2 separate regions of the Homo sapiens genome follow, and region 2 is linked to region 1. Evidence: promoter capture Hi-C in 16 types of primary human blood cells and fetal thymus (Javierre and others, 2016). All regions are on one chromosome and are shown on one strand. The core of a region is centred on a gene start or on the middle of the fragment in contact, and the rest is flanking DNA. Distances in the headings are between cores, read along the strand shown. Region 1 holds the start of LINC01277 (long intergenic non-protein coding RNA 1277). Region 2 has its middle 200 kb from the start of ADGRG6.

What was found. The method cuts DNA at HindIII sites, captures the fragments that hold promoters and counts their contacts. A CHiCAGO score of 5 or more calls a contact.
Region 2: a contact is called between a fragment that was not itself captured here and the fragment with the promoter of LINC01277 in region 1, in 1 of 17 cell types (fetal thymus). The highest score is 6.1, in fetal thymus.

Annotation. Positions count from the first base shown.
Region 1 is chr6:143,033,529-143,040,072 of GRCh38, reverse strand. It overlaps LINC01277 (long intergenic non-protein coding RNA 1277), which reads left to right and starts at 2,491. Exons shown (of 3, transcript NR_038987.1): 1 at 2,491-3,084. RefSeq lists enhancers at 164-233, 4,946-5,115. The HindIII fragment of the contact is 5,129 bases long and covers 192-5,320 here.
Region 2 is chr6:142,496,104-142,502,647 of GRCh38, reverse strand. No RefSeq gene overlaps it. Among named protein-coding and RNA genes, the nearest start is that of ADGRG6, 200 kb to the right of the region's middle. The HindIII fragment of the contact is 2,785 bases long and covers 2,069-4,853 here.

The DNA of each region.
Region 1 (6,544 bases), core at 1,242-3,741:
GGGAGTAGGGAATTGACATTGGTAATTTACAGGTGGTTTTTTGATGGGAATATTTACAGATTCTGAGCAAAGCTACAGGCTGTCCCTCAAAGAAAACAACAAAAGAGATCTCTATTCTTCACAGAAGACTATAGAGTGTCCCAAACACATTGCCAGTCTTCCTTTCAAGCGAGTTGCTGAATTTTGAAGCTTTATGGAGCAGGAGGTTAAAGAGCTAAACTGAAAACTTGCTGTTATCTTTTAGGGCTGGAAGACAGAGATCCACCAGGCTCTCAATTGAAAGCCCTGGAGGGCTACACCCTAAGAACAGAAGTGAATCGGAGGTACACTTAGCAAAACTGAAACCAGCTTCTGATTCAGAATAATCTCTGACTCGATTGAGGTGATCAAAGGCTATTCTACCTGCCCAACAGAAGAAAAAGGGAACACTTTCGGTGGAAGGCAATATCATCTGGACCCTTTATGGTTTTATTATACATAATGTCTAACATTTTTTAAATTACTAGATGTGGAAGATCAAGTTCATTTGCCCAATAATCAAGAGAAAAAAACACACACAATAGAAACACAATTATAGATGATCAAGATATTGTAATCAGCAAATGAGAATTTACAAATAATTTTTATGAATATGTTTAAGAAAATAAAGTGCAAAATTGATGAGGAAATGGACAATTTTCAGTAAAACTAACCTATAAAAAAGATTTCTTTAGGCATTCTAAATTTGAAAAAATATACTATCGTCAGTTAAGAAATCAATATATGGAGAAAACTGCAGTGGAAAGGATCAGTAGAGATAGCAGTGTGTCCAACAGCCAAGAAAGTAGGGTGGCGGGCATACAGATAGTGATGTGCATAGGGGCAAAAGAAGTCATAATGGGAAAGCCATGTGGAGGCAGCAGAGTGCCTGGTGTCCAAGGAAGCATGTATAGGGGGTACATATGGTGGCAGTTGTATGCTCAGCAGAAGAAGCACCAGGGAGGTGAAGGTAAGAGTAAGTTGGGGTGCACAGTTAACAATGTGTCTAACAGCCAGAAGGTGGAGACAGGGGCATGGAGGCAGTGGCATATCAAACAGACCAGGGTTTGGTGGGGAGAAGAGTTCAAAAGTGACAACTTGCCTGGAGATGAAATCAGGAGTGATGAGTTGGCCATGGCAGTACCTAGCATTTTTAGGAAATTAATTATGTAAAGGAGGATTGATCAAGAAAGTATCTATATTGAAGCTAATGGAAGCTGGATTTCTCTCTGTGGGAAAACAAATTTACAAATATGAAAAGGGGAAGCGAAAAAAATAACTCATTGCTATTGTTATGGTAAGAAGGAAGAAGGAAGGAAGGAAAGAGCAAAAGGAAGGAAAGAAGGAAAGAGTGAAAGGGAAGGGAGGAAAGAAACAAAAAAAATTATCAATGCAAGTGAATATGTCTGTGTACATATCCATGAATACATACATATATTTCAAAATTCTGACCATGGAGAGGACCTAGGTGCAATGACACCCCAGTAGCAATTAATAACAAGTATGTAGGTTCCAATTTCCATAACAAACAACAAGGACTCCTTGTAAAAGTGGATGATTCAAGGATGGAGGTAGAGAAATTTCAAGATAAGCCTGGAACGTTGGATAATAATGAACTGTGGTTTGAATGCTGGTATTTATCGCTGTCCATTTTCTGATTTGAAAGGCTTGGCAATTACTCTGTAGGAGAGTGTCTTTGGGAGAAGTAGTAATAGGAATATTTACAGATGATAGGACATAAAGGTTTCAACTTGCTTAACTTGCTCTCAAAATATTCAAAAAAGGTATCATATCCTTGAAAATACACATCTATCTATCTATCTATCTATCTATCTATCTATCTATCTATCTATCATCTTTACAAAAAGAGATGGAGAAAATATGAAACTATTAACTGAGGAATCTGGATGAAGAGAATGTGGGAGTTCATTCTACTGTTCTTGCAACTTTTCTGATAAAAATATTTCAAAGTAAATTATTTCAAAATTAAATTTAAAAACTCAATATATGAGTTTAACAATAGGTTGGACACTATTGAATACAAGACTTGTGAACTGGAAACATATCAATGAAAAATATACAAAGTGAAGCATGGAAGAAAAAAAGAAAGAGAAAAAATAAGAAACAAATGTAAGAGACATACAGGACAAGTATGAAAGGTCTACCATGTAAAACTGAAGTTTCAGAGGGCAAGGAGAAAGAAATAGAGCAGAAGCAATATTCAAAGGGATAATGGTTGGGAATTTTCTAAAGCAGATAAAATACATTTAACCCACTGGTTAAGAAGCTCAGCAAACCCTCAAGCAGGATAAGTATAGAGAAAACCACAATTATGCAACTCACAATAAAACTGCTGAACCAAAGACAGAGAAGATGGAAAAACCAGCCAGAAGAAAAAAGACACATTATCTACAAAAGAGCAACAATGAGACTGGCAGCTGTCTCTAATAGCAACAATAGAAGCCAGAAGATAATGGAATGCTATCTCTAGAGTACTGAAAGAAACTAAAGGCCAACGTGTGAAAAACAATCTTCAGAAATGAACGTTAAATGATGACATTTTCAAACAAACAAGCAACAAAAAGAAGCAAAAAGTAAACAAAAAACAAAAATTCACATAATTTATTGCTAGGAGTTTTACACTGAAATGCTGAAGGGATTTCTACTAGCAAAAGTAAAAATGATCTCATTTGAAAAGATGGAAATTCAAGGAGGGAATGAAGAATACTGGATGGGTAAATGTGTTGGTAACTGTAAATGAATACTGACTACACAAAATTATGTTGAATAACTGAAAGATGAAAACACAATCACTTGAAGGAGAAATGTATGGTCAAACTGCATGCAGGAAAAACTTCTATAAAAGAGTTACTTCATGCTCTGGGTTGGCAGATACAATGAGCAGGAGTGCATCAGAAGTAATCAAGAAGGTGATTAGTTGGTGTACTTCAGCAGGAGCAACCAGATGAATTGGCTTCTCTATATCCCCGTATTAGCCACAAGCTAGGCAGCAGCCTGCAGGTGGGAGCAATGCCTATGCATGTATGGATCAGTGTGCTACATACAGTAAGTACAGGATGGTACCAGTTCCTGGTGAGAGGACACAGATGAATAGAAAAGAGACTGAAATGATATACAATAAGCCAGTAACTAATGTTGCCACTAGAGATGGGGTTAGAGGAAATAGTTTTGTCTACATTATATAAATCTTTCACAATAAAAATGTATTCATGTGCTACTTGTATAATTAGAAATATATTTGAAAATGAATAATTTTGTATAGGAAATATATGTTTGACTCCATGCAATAAATACTGACATCAGCATCAAAATAAAGCATTTCTAAAAATCACCTGGAAATAAAAATAGTCTTCTAGATAACTCTTGTATCAAAGAGGAAAAAAGAATCCTGATAACATAATATAATCTTGTGAATTGTAACCAAATCTTACCTTATGAAAAATTTTGTTTAAAATAACATAAATGTATAACTCAGGAAATTAAAAAGAAGAAAATAAATCAAAAGAAAGTAAAAGAATGTAAAAGCAATGACTTAAACATGAGAAAGCCAAACATTACAATTTATTGATAAAAACAGTGATCTTGTATTTGAAAAGTTATAAAAACAAAACAAACCAATCAATCCCTAGCAAGTCTAGCCAAAGGAAACCTAAGAGAACACAAATACAATATTAGAAAACAGAAAAGGTATAACCAAAGGAAATTATAATTTTTAAATAAAATTTTTGTACTTTTCTGAGTATAAAATTTTAAAATAGATATTTTTAAGGAAACTACAAACAACCAATTTGCCTGAATAAAATATAGGAAGCCAAAATAGATCAATATCCATAGAAAAGTTGAAACTTTTGTAAAAAAAATACTGTAAAATGGCTCTGGGCCATGTTCATTTTCTCAGAAATTTTTACCAAATACTGACGAATAGTTAAGTTCTGTAGTACTTAATTGTTACAAAGCTATAGAAATCATAACTTTGATACAATAAACCTGATAAATATGTCACAAAACCATGGGCCAATCTATCTAATAAGCACAAATAAAAAGTCTGTTATGAAATATCAAATCCAACAGTATACTAAAAGAGCAATACACTTTACCTGATCAAATTTATTCAAGAGTACAAAAATTGTTCAAATTTAGGAAATATGCTAATGTAATCTTGGTAGATGCTAAAGGACATTTTATAAATGTTAACGTTACTTTTGATTAAAATTCCTGGTGTGCCAAGGGAAAAGCAGACTTTCTTAACTTGGTAACAAGTATTTTTTAGAAATCCAAAGCCAATATAATACTTAATAATGAAATACCAAAAATAATCACATTAAAGTGATAAATAAGAGGACATGGGAGCACAAGAAGAAAAACCAGGGACTCTTCCAAGATGGCCTAGTAGGAACTCCGGTCTGCAGCTCCCAGTGAGATCGATGCAGAAGATGGGTGATTTCTTCATTTCCAACTGAGGTATCTGGTTCATCTCATTGAGACTGGTTGGACAGTGGGTGCATCCCACAGAGGGCTAGCCGAAGGAGGGTGGGGCGTCGCCTCACCTGGGAAGCACAAGGTGTCAGGGGATTTCCCTTCCCTAGCCAAGGGAAGCCATGAGAGACTGTGCCAGGAGGAACAGTACGCTTCTGCCCAAATACTGCGCTTTTCCCATGGTCTTCACAACTGGCAGACCAGGAGATTCCCTCCAGTGGCTCGCTCAGTGGGTCCCATGCCCATGGAGTCCAGCAAGCTAAGATCCATTGGCTTGAAATTCTCACTGCAAGGGCAGCAGTCTGAAATTGACCTGGGACGCTGGAGTTTGGCAGGGGGAGGGGCATCCACCATTGCTGAGGCTTGAGTAGGTGGTTTTATGCTCATAGAGTAAACAAAGCTGTCGGGAAACTGGAACTGGGCGGAGCCCACTGAAGCTCAGCAAGGCTGACTGCCTCTCTAGATTTCACCTCTGTGGGCACGGCATATCTGAACAAAAGGCAGCAGCCCCAGTCAGGGAGTTACAGATAAAACCCTCGTCCCTCTGGGACAGAGCACGTGGGGGAAGGGGCAACTGTGGGCACAGCTTCTCCAGACTTAAATGTCCCTGGCTGACACCTCTGAAAAGAGCAGTGGCTCACCCAGCATGGTGGTCGAGCTCTGATAATGGATGGACTGCCTCCTTAAGTGGGTCCCTGACCCTCATGTAGCCTGCCTGGGAGACACTTCCCAGTAGGGGCTGAGAGACACCTCATTAAGGAGAGCTCTTGCTGGCATCTGGTGGGTGCCCCTCTGGGACAAAGCTTCCAGAGGAAGGATCAGGCAGCAATATTTGCTGTTCTGCAGCCTCCACTGGTGATACCCAGGCGAACAGGGTCTGGAGTGGACCTCCAGCAAACTCCAACAGATCTGAAACTGAGGGACCTGACTGTTAGAAGGAAAACCAAGAAACAGAAAGGAATAGCATCAACATCAACAAAAAGGACATCCACACCAAAACCAACATCAAGACCAAAGGTAGATAAAAGACCAAAGGTAGATAAAACCACAAAGATGGGGAGAAACCAGAGCAGAAAGGCTAAAAATTCCAAGAACCAGAAAGCCTCTTCTCCTCCAAAGGATCACAACTCCTCGCCAGTAAGGGAACAAAACTGGACGGAGAATGAGTTTGATGCATTGACAGAAGTAGGGTTCAGAAGGTGGGTAATAACAAACTTCTCCGAGCGAAAGGAGCATGTTCTGACCCATTGCAAGGAAGCTAAGAACCTTGAAAAAAGGTTAGAGGCATGGCTAACTAGAATAAGAATAACTAGTGTAGAGAAAAACATAAATTACCTGAGGGAGCTGAAAAAAACAGCACGAGAACTTCATGAAGCATACACAAGCTTCAATAGCTGATTAGATCAAATGGAAGAAAGGATATCAGTGATTGAAGATCAAATTAATGAAATAAAGTGAGAAGACAAGATTAGAGAAAAAAGAATGAAAAGAAATGAATAAAGCCCCCAAGAAATATGGGACTATGTGAAAAGACCAAATCTACATTTGATTGGTGTACCGGAAAGTGACGGGGAGAATGGAACCAAGTTAGAAAACACTCTTCAGGATATTATCTAGGAAAACTTTCCCAACCTAGCAAGACAGGCCAAGATTCAAATTCAGGAAATACAAAGAATACCACAAAGATATTCCTTGAGAAAAGCAACCCCAAGTCATATAATCATCAGATTCACCAAGGTTGAAATGAAGGAAAAAATGTTAAGGGCAGCCAAAGAGAAAGGTTAGGTTACCCACAAAGGGAAGCCCATCAGACTAACAGTGGATCTCTTGGCAGACACCCTACAAGCCAGAAGAGAGTGGGGGCCAATATTCAACATTCTTAAAGGAAAGAATTTTCAGCGCAGAATTTCATATCCAGCCAAACTAAGCTTCACAAGGGAAGGAGAAATAAAATCCTTTATAGACAAGCAAATGCTGAGAGATTTTGTCACCACCAGGCCTGCCTTACAAGAGCTCCTGAAGGAAGCAC
Region 2 (6,544 bases), core at 2,212-4,711, 540 kb after region 1:
TGTACAGCAAAAGAAACTATCAACAGAGTAAACAGATAACCTACAGAATGGGAGAAAATTTTTGCAAACTATGCATCTGACAAATGTCTAATATCCAGCATCTCTCAGGAACTTAAAGAAATTTACCAAACAAAACAAAACAACAAGCTCCATTAGAAAGTGGGCAAAAGACATGAACAGACACTTTTCAAAAAAAGACATACATGTAGTCAACAAGCATATGAAAAAAAGCTCAACATCACTGATTATTAGTGAAATGCCAATCAAAATCACAATGAGATACCATCTCACACCAGTCAGAGTGGCTACTATCAAAAAGTCAAAAAATAACAGATGCTGGAGAGGTTGTGAAGAAAAGGGAATGCTTATACTCTGTTAATGGTTGGTGGGGGTGTAAATTGTTTCAACCATTGTGGAAAGCAGTGCGGCAGTTCCTCAAAGAACTGAAAACAGAACTACCATTCAACACAGCAATTTCATTAGTGGGTACATACCCAAAGGAATATAAATGGTTCTATCATAAAGACACATACACATGTATGTTCATTGCAGCACTATTCACAGTAGCAAAGACACGCAATCAACCTAAATGCCCATCAGTGGTAGATTGGATAAGAAACTGTGGTACATATACACCATGGAATACTATGCAGCCATAAAAAAGAACAAGATCATTTCCTTTGCAAGAACATGGATGGAGGTAGAGGCCATAATTCTTAGCAAACTAATGCAGAAACAGAAAACCCAATATTGCGTGTTCTTACTTATAAATGGGAGCTAAGTGATGAGAATACATTGACGCATAGAAGGGAAAAACAAACATGGGGGCCTACATGAGGGTGGAGGATGAGAGGAAGGAAAACAGTAGAAAACATAACTATTGGGTACTAGGCTTAGTACTGGGGTGATGAAATAATCTGTATAACAAACTCCCATGACACAAGTTTACCTATATAACAAACCTGCACATGTACCCCAATCTTAAAATTTTTAAAAAGAAGAAATTATATTAAAATATTTATTAAATACTATACATACATTGAAATTAATGAATAAAATAATATGCATATTTAATTATGTGATGTATATTCATGATACACATTTACATTAAAATATTGTTTACCAATCATATGTTTAATATTTATTTGGGGAAAAATATAGAATTTGTGCATAGAAAAATTTCCTGGAAGGATATATATCAAAGTGTCACGTAATTTCCTCTATGTGTTGGAATCATAGGTGGATTTTGGTCTTATTTTTTTTCTTTTCTTTTTTCACTTGTCTAAATTTTCTAGCTTTCTGCAATGAATATATATCACTTTTGATTTCAGAAGTGTTATTATTAATTGAGGAAAAGGACCTACCGCGTATTTCAAAAACTCCTACAGTCACCATCATACCTGCATGGCCCATAGTTCTCCATCAATAAAGTCCTGAACAGAAAACACTTGCCTCCACCTCTCACAGACAAAAAACAGTTAACCTCAGTGTTAAATCTGTTCCGAAGTAAAGTGCTGTTCATACAGTGTTAGCATTCATCTGGAAGAAGTGTAACGGTGTGGCAAACATTTTTTATTTTCCAGTCCAGACCAGGAGATTTACAGGTGGTCTGGGTATGTCAGGAGTAAATATGCATGATCAATGGATGTTCCGCCTCTCCTGAAAAATGCTCTGGCGGCAGTGTGGCTTGTTTCTTCAGGTGGTAAATTGTTGTTCATTTATCATCTCAGGATATTTCATTTTCTCCAAAGCAAGCATGATATTTAAAAAGTAGACTTCAGTTTTCCAAATGAGGGAAGGGAATGTTTAAACTGGTGAATGCCTTGTGTCTTTAATATAGAATCTATAGCATCTTCAAAAGGCCATTGAAGGAGTGTGACATAGCTGGTGTTAGTGCTTCCTGGTGTGGCTGTTGATAGGTGAAAATAACATTTTAAATTTTATGTCCTTAATGCCCTCCATCTTAGTTATCCTTAATTTCCACTGTAATCTTCTCCAGAATTAGCCTCCAATAGAACGCAAGCTTCCTCTCCAAATATAGCCTTCACCAGCACGAAAATAGCAAGCTTTTCTTCCCCTCTATTTTTTCTTGGTCACAGTCAGAGAGGAGAGAATTCAGTAAAATACTTCCCTGTGTGATGCATGTTAAGCATAATTTGAATCCCTTTGGGAAAATAACAACTCATTCTAGTTGTGTGGTTGCCAGGGGCTTGAATTATTAAGCTGTTATGTGGCCAGTGTTCCTTGAGCCCTAGAATGGATTTTGCTTAAGCTGTGTGGACTCCTCTCCCGGCCAGGTGATGGGAAGGAGGCTGTCAATGTGTTTCGTGCTGTATGTTTTCATCAGTATTAGTGCTGAGGAGAATGCCAATATTTGTGAAATAAAGATATGCAATCAGGAAAGAATCAGCAGAAAAAATGAGTTTTAAAAATAGAACAAGAGAAAGACAAGTAGCTGCACATTCATGGGGGAACACAGAATTATAAATATTTGGGAGTATGTGTCAGAGAGAAAAAGATAGAGTAGAACAATATTACTAGATTAACTCAGGTGTTAGATGCCCAGCTAATTCAGAAATGTCAGCCCTAGTCAAAGGGAAGTAGATGCAAACAAAAGATTTACTGAGCTTCTTCAACATAGCAAGTTGAGAGCACAGGAGAGCTATGAGACTTCATGTGTAATAAATGTTCAGATATGGCATCTTTTTCCACCTTTTAAAGGGAGGAATTTAGATGGAAGGTAGCAGAGAACATATGAATGAGGAAATGTAGTTTAATGGAAGGGACAAGGCTTTGGAGGAAGAAAGATTTGAGAGTTGCTTCCTAACTGCTACGTGGGGCAAGAAACCTACCATCTTTTATCCTGGGTCTTTGCTTTCTTTTATTTAAAATAGGCATTGTTAGCCCCTGTCTCTTTGGAGTCTAATTATGTCTGAAACTAAATAGTACAATGCCGGACATATAATTGATGCTTAACAAATAATACTTATAATTATTTCCAAAAATATTTGAACTTTACGTAGAAATTCCCTTGAAATGCTCAAGTACTGTGGCACTGCGGTACAACATAATGTCTCTCCATGATTGATTAGTTTAGCCAAAGTTCTTCACTCTTTATATGAATAAACCAAGGTAATGCATAGCTTAATTAATAAATAATATATTCTCTTAACAAGCATTATGGTCTATTGTTAAATCTTTTAAATATATAAATATATTGTAAATGTATTTTGCTTTTGTTATATAAATGTAGGAACTTGACAGAGACCGGAATGGAGAAATAGACAAGAATCCACAATGGAGGGCAGATGGAATACAGTCATTGTCTTAGGCTCTTGGGTCTAATAGATCTGGTCTGAAAGATTGGCTCCTTCTGTTTAAAGTTGTGTGACTCTGAGCAACTTGTTTAAATTCTACAAGCATCAGTTTCCTCAACTATATAAATGAACATAGTAAATATTAACTAGTTGTTTGCAATTAAGGCCTAAAACAATGAGTGATGTGGAAGGTACTGGGTCCTTGCCTTAGGTGGTACAGAGTTGTGGTCCATGATAAGAACTTAGAGGGTCAGAAATGAGAACTAAAAGCAGGTACTATATTTGCAGGTATGAATTGCCTCTCTCTGAGTCTTGAGAAGGTGTTTAGAGCTCATTTAATATTAAATAGCTACCTTTGAGACTTGTCTCTTAAGGTACTATTCAGCAGAGATGATGAATGAAGCCATATGTTGCCCCTGTAAAGCATGGATCATCACAGAGTTCTCTCCAGGGATGTGTGTATATTGATACCAGTGGGAAAGTAATATGTACTATAGGAGAGTTATACATAAAGTGTCATGAGAATTTAAAAGAAGATTGTTTCCATTTGGAGGGAATAGAAATGTGATTTTAAAAACAATTCCCTCATTCAGTTTTTTAAAACTCAATAACTATATCTTTAGCTGGGGCCTCTAAGCCACAAACAAGCTCTTGTGTTCCAATTCAATCAGGGTGCTTTTGGATACAAATTGGAACTGTGTCATGGTGTCATGCACAGCAGCATAAACTAATATCCAGTTTCTTTTTAATGTATGGTAAAATATTAGTTTGTAACTTTGAGTGGAAGTTTCAATATGTAATGAAATGCACTGATAGAATGGATCATTCAGAAATTTTGGTTCTAATTGAGTTATCTCTTGTATGACTGGTCTTAGAGAAGAATAAGATAACTGAACTAGAACATCCAAAACTGTGACAAGGGCCATCAACTAAAGATTAAGCCATATTAACAATTATTGCACAGAACTGTTCATTGGGCATCACTCTTGTCTATACTCATTTACCTGGAGAGCAAGTTGTCCTCAAAGACTCAAAAACCACTTTCCTGCATAATGTGGCATATAGTCTGTAGAAAAAAGAAGTATAACCTTAATTGTAAATGGATTCACTACTCTCAGAGAAAATATTCTTTGAGTGAGGATCCAAATAGCAAATTTTCCTCTCCTTAGCAAAACTAAACAATGAAAGTAAGTATTTTTCATAAATTCTATATTGTCTATGACTAATGGATTCTCCAATGCAACCAGCCGTATTAACATATCTGTCATCTCTGTGACACCTTAGCTTTTCATAAAATACATAAAATTTTGGTTTGACCATTTGAAGTCTCCATTTTTTAGATTGCTTGTTTTTAAACTTTAGTGATAAAAAGACTCAGCTTATTACAGTTTCCCTGTCTCCTTTTCCAGATATTCTGCTTCAGTGAGCCTTGGGTGGGACCCAGGAGTCAGTTTACATTAAAATCTCCCCAAGTCATTCTGATGCCAGTGGTCCACAGATCACACTTGAGAAATCCTGATCTAGATTTACTAAGCTTGATATAATGTCCTCCTTTAATCAAAGGTCTAGGAAGCATTTTCTTCGTTCAGTTTCTAGAACACACTTTGCTCCCATTTTCATCCTTGCTTAAAAGTGCCACTCATTTCTGGAACAAATCTAGGCCATGCTGTGAACAGGAGAAAAAATATTCTTTCTGTGAATACCTTGCAAAATGCTCACAGCTAGTCATTTTTTATGCAGGTGTGTGCACCCTAAGAATTACACAAGGTGATCCAGTAAGGTATGGAAAAAGTATTAGGTTTTCTATTTATACTTATTTTTACCTACAAGGAAAAAGTAATCTTCACTGATTTTAATGTATCTAGACAATAGTATATATGCATTGTTTCTAAGGAAATAAATATATATAGAGAGGCATGCATACTCAAACACTTTCTACAAGTAGAAATGAGTAATGAAGAGGTTGGAAGCCAACTGGTCTAATCAATAAAGTCCTCATTTTCCTCAACACTGCACTGTGTATTATTGCCTTGTACCATTGCTTGCAAGTAAAGTATTTATGTCTTCTATCAGCAATTAGAATATAGACCAGAAGACAAGAACTGTTTAGGCAAGACCTTCTCCCCATGCCCAGCACTTAGGCCAGAGTTATTCAATTAGTAGGCATTAATCTTTGTTTGGAGATTTACTGACTTGTCTCATGTCTATCAGCCTATTAATTCTCGGTATTTAACATGATTGGTAGAACTGCTGACTTTCCTTTATCACCTTTTTGTCTTCTCAAGTTCTGTCAGTCAGAACTACTCTTCACTCACATTTTCTTCTGATGAGTATATGAATCTTCTCTGTGCCTCAGCTTCAACATTACCTGTTCTATGGTGGTGCTTTTCTTCTTTCCCAGCCTCATTCAGTCCCATCTGTTTGCTGGCTTTCCAGAGTAACTTGTATATGGTTCTATCGTGGCATTTCCCATGCTATGAATAAACTTTCTTCTGGAATCTGAGCTTAACAAGGGCAAGATGTATGTCTTATGTCTACAACATGCAAGACATTTATATTGGTTGAATGACTGAATAAGTAGCAAAGGAACAACAAAAAAGTGCCATCATCCTTTGTCTATAGAGGTATAAAAAACCTTAGAAATATGTTGACAATTCTAAAGCGTATTTAGCATTATCTAATCACCTTTTAAAGAGATTTTTTAAAGCATCTTTCATTTCAATGTGAGAATATGAAATTGCTGTGCTAGGAGCTTAAAAATGTTAAGCAATGCTTTAGCTCAGTTTCCCTTCAAAGGTAGCAATTTGTAAACAAGGACAACTGAGAAATGCTTTGAAGAATCCACAAGTACTCTAGGCATCTTACCTGATGGTTTAAACATAAGATGCCTATATCTAAATCAGTACGCTTCAGTTACAATGTCCATCTTCACTTCATATTTGAAATTAAAACGAGAACATAGTGCAGAAGAAGGAGAAATATGAAGTCACAACTATTTTTTTTCTCCAACCTAGATGTTAGAAATTCAAATGTTAATAAGACAGAAGGTTCTCTATCCCCAAGGAGTTTCTTATCTGGGGAGATAGGAAATCAAGAAGTAAACAGATGAATAAACATGATCATTTCAAACATGAAAAAAGACATGAAAGAAATCGGGTGATTTGAGAGACAGCAACTGTTGGGCATTGGGGTGGGGAAAGAACAGGAGAAAACAGGAACAGGAGAAA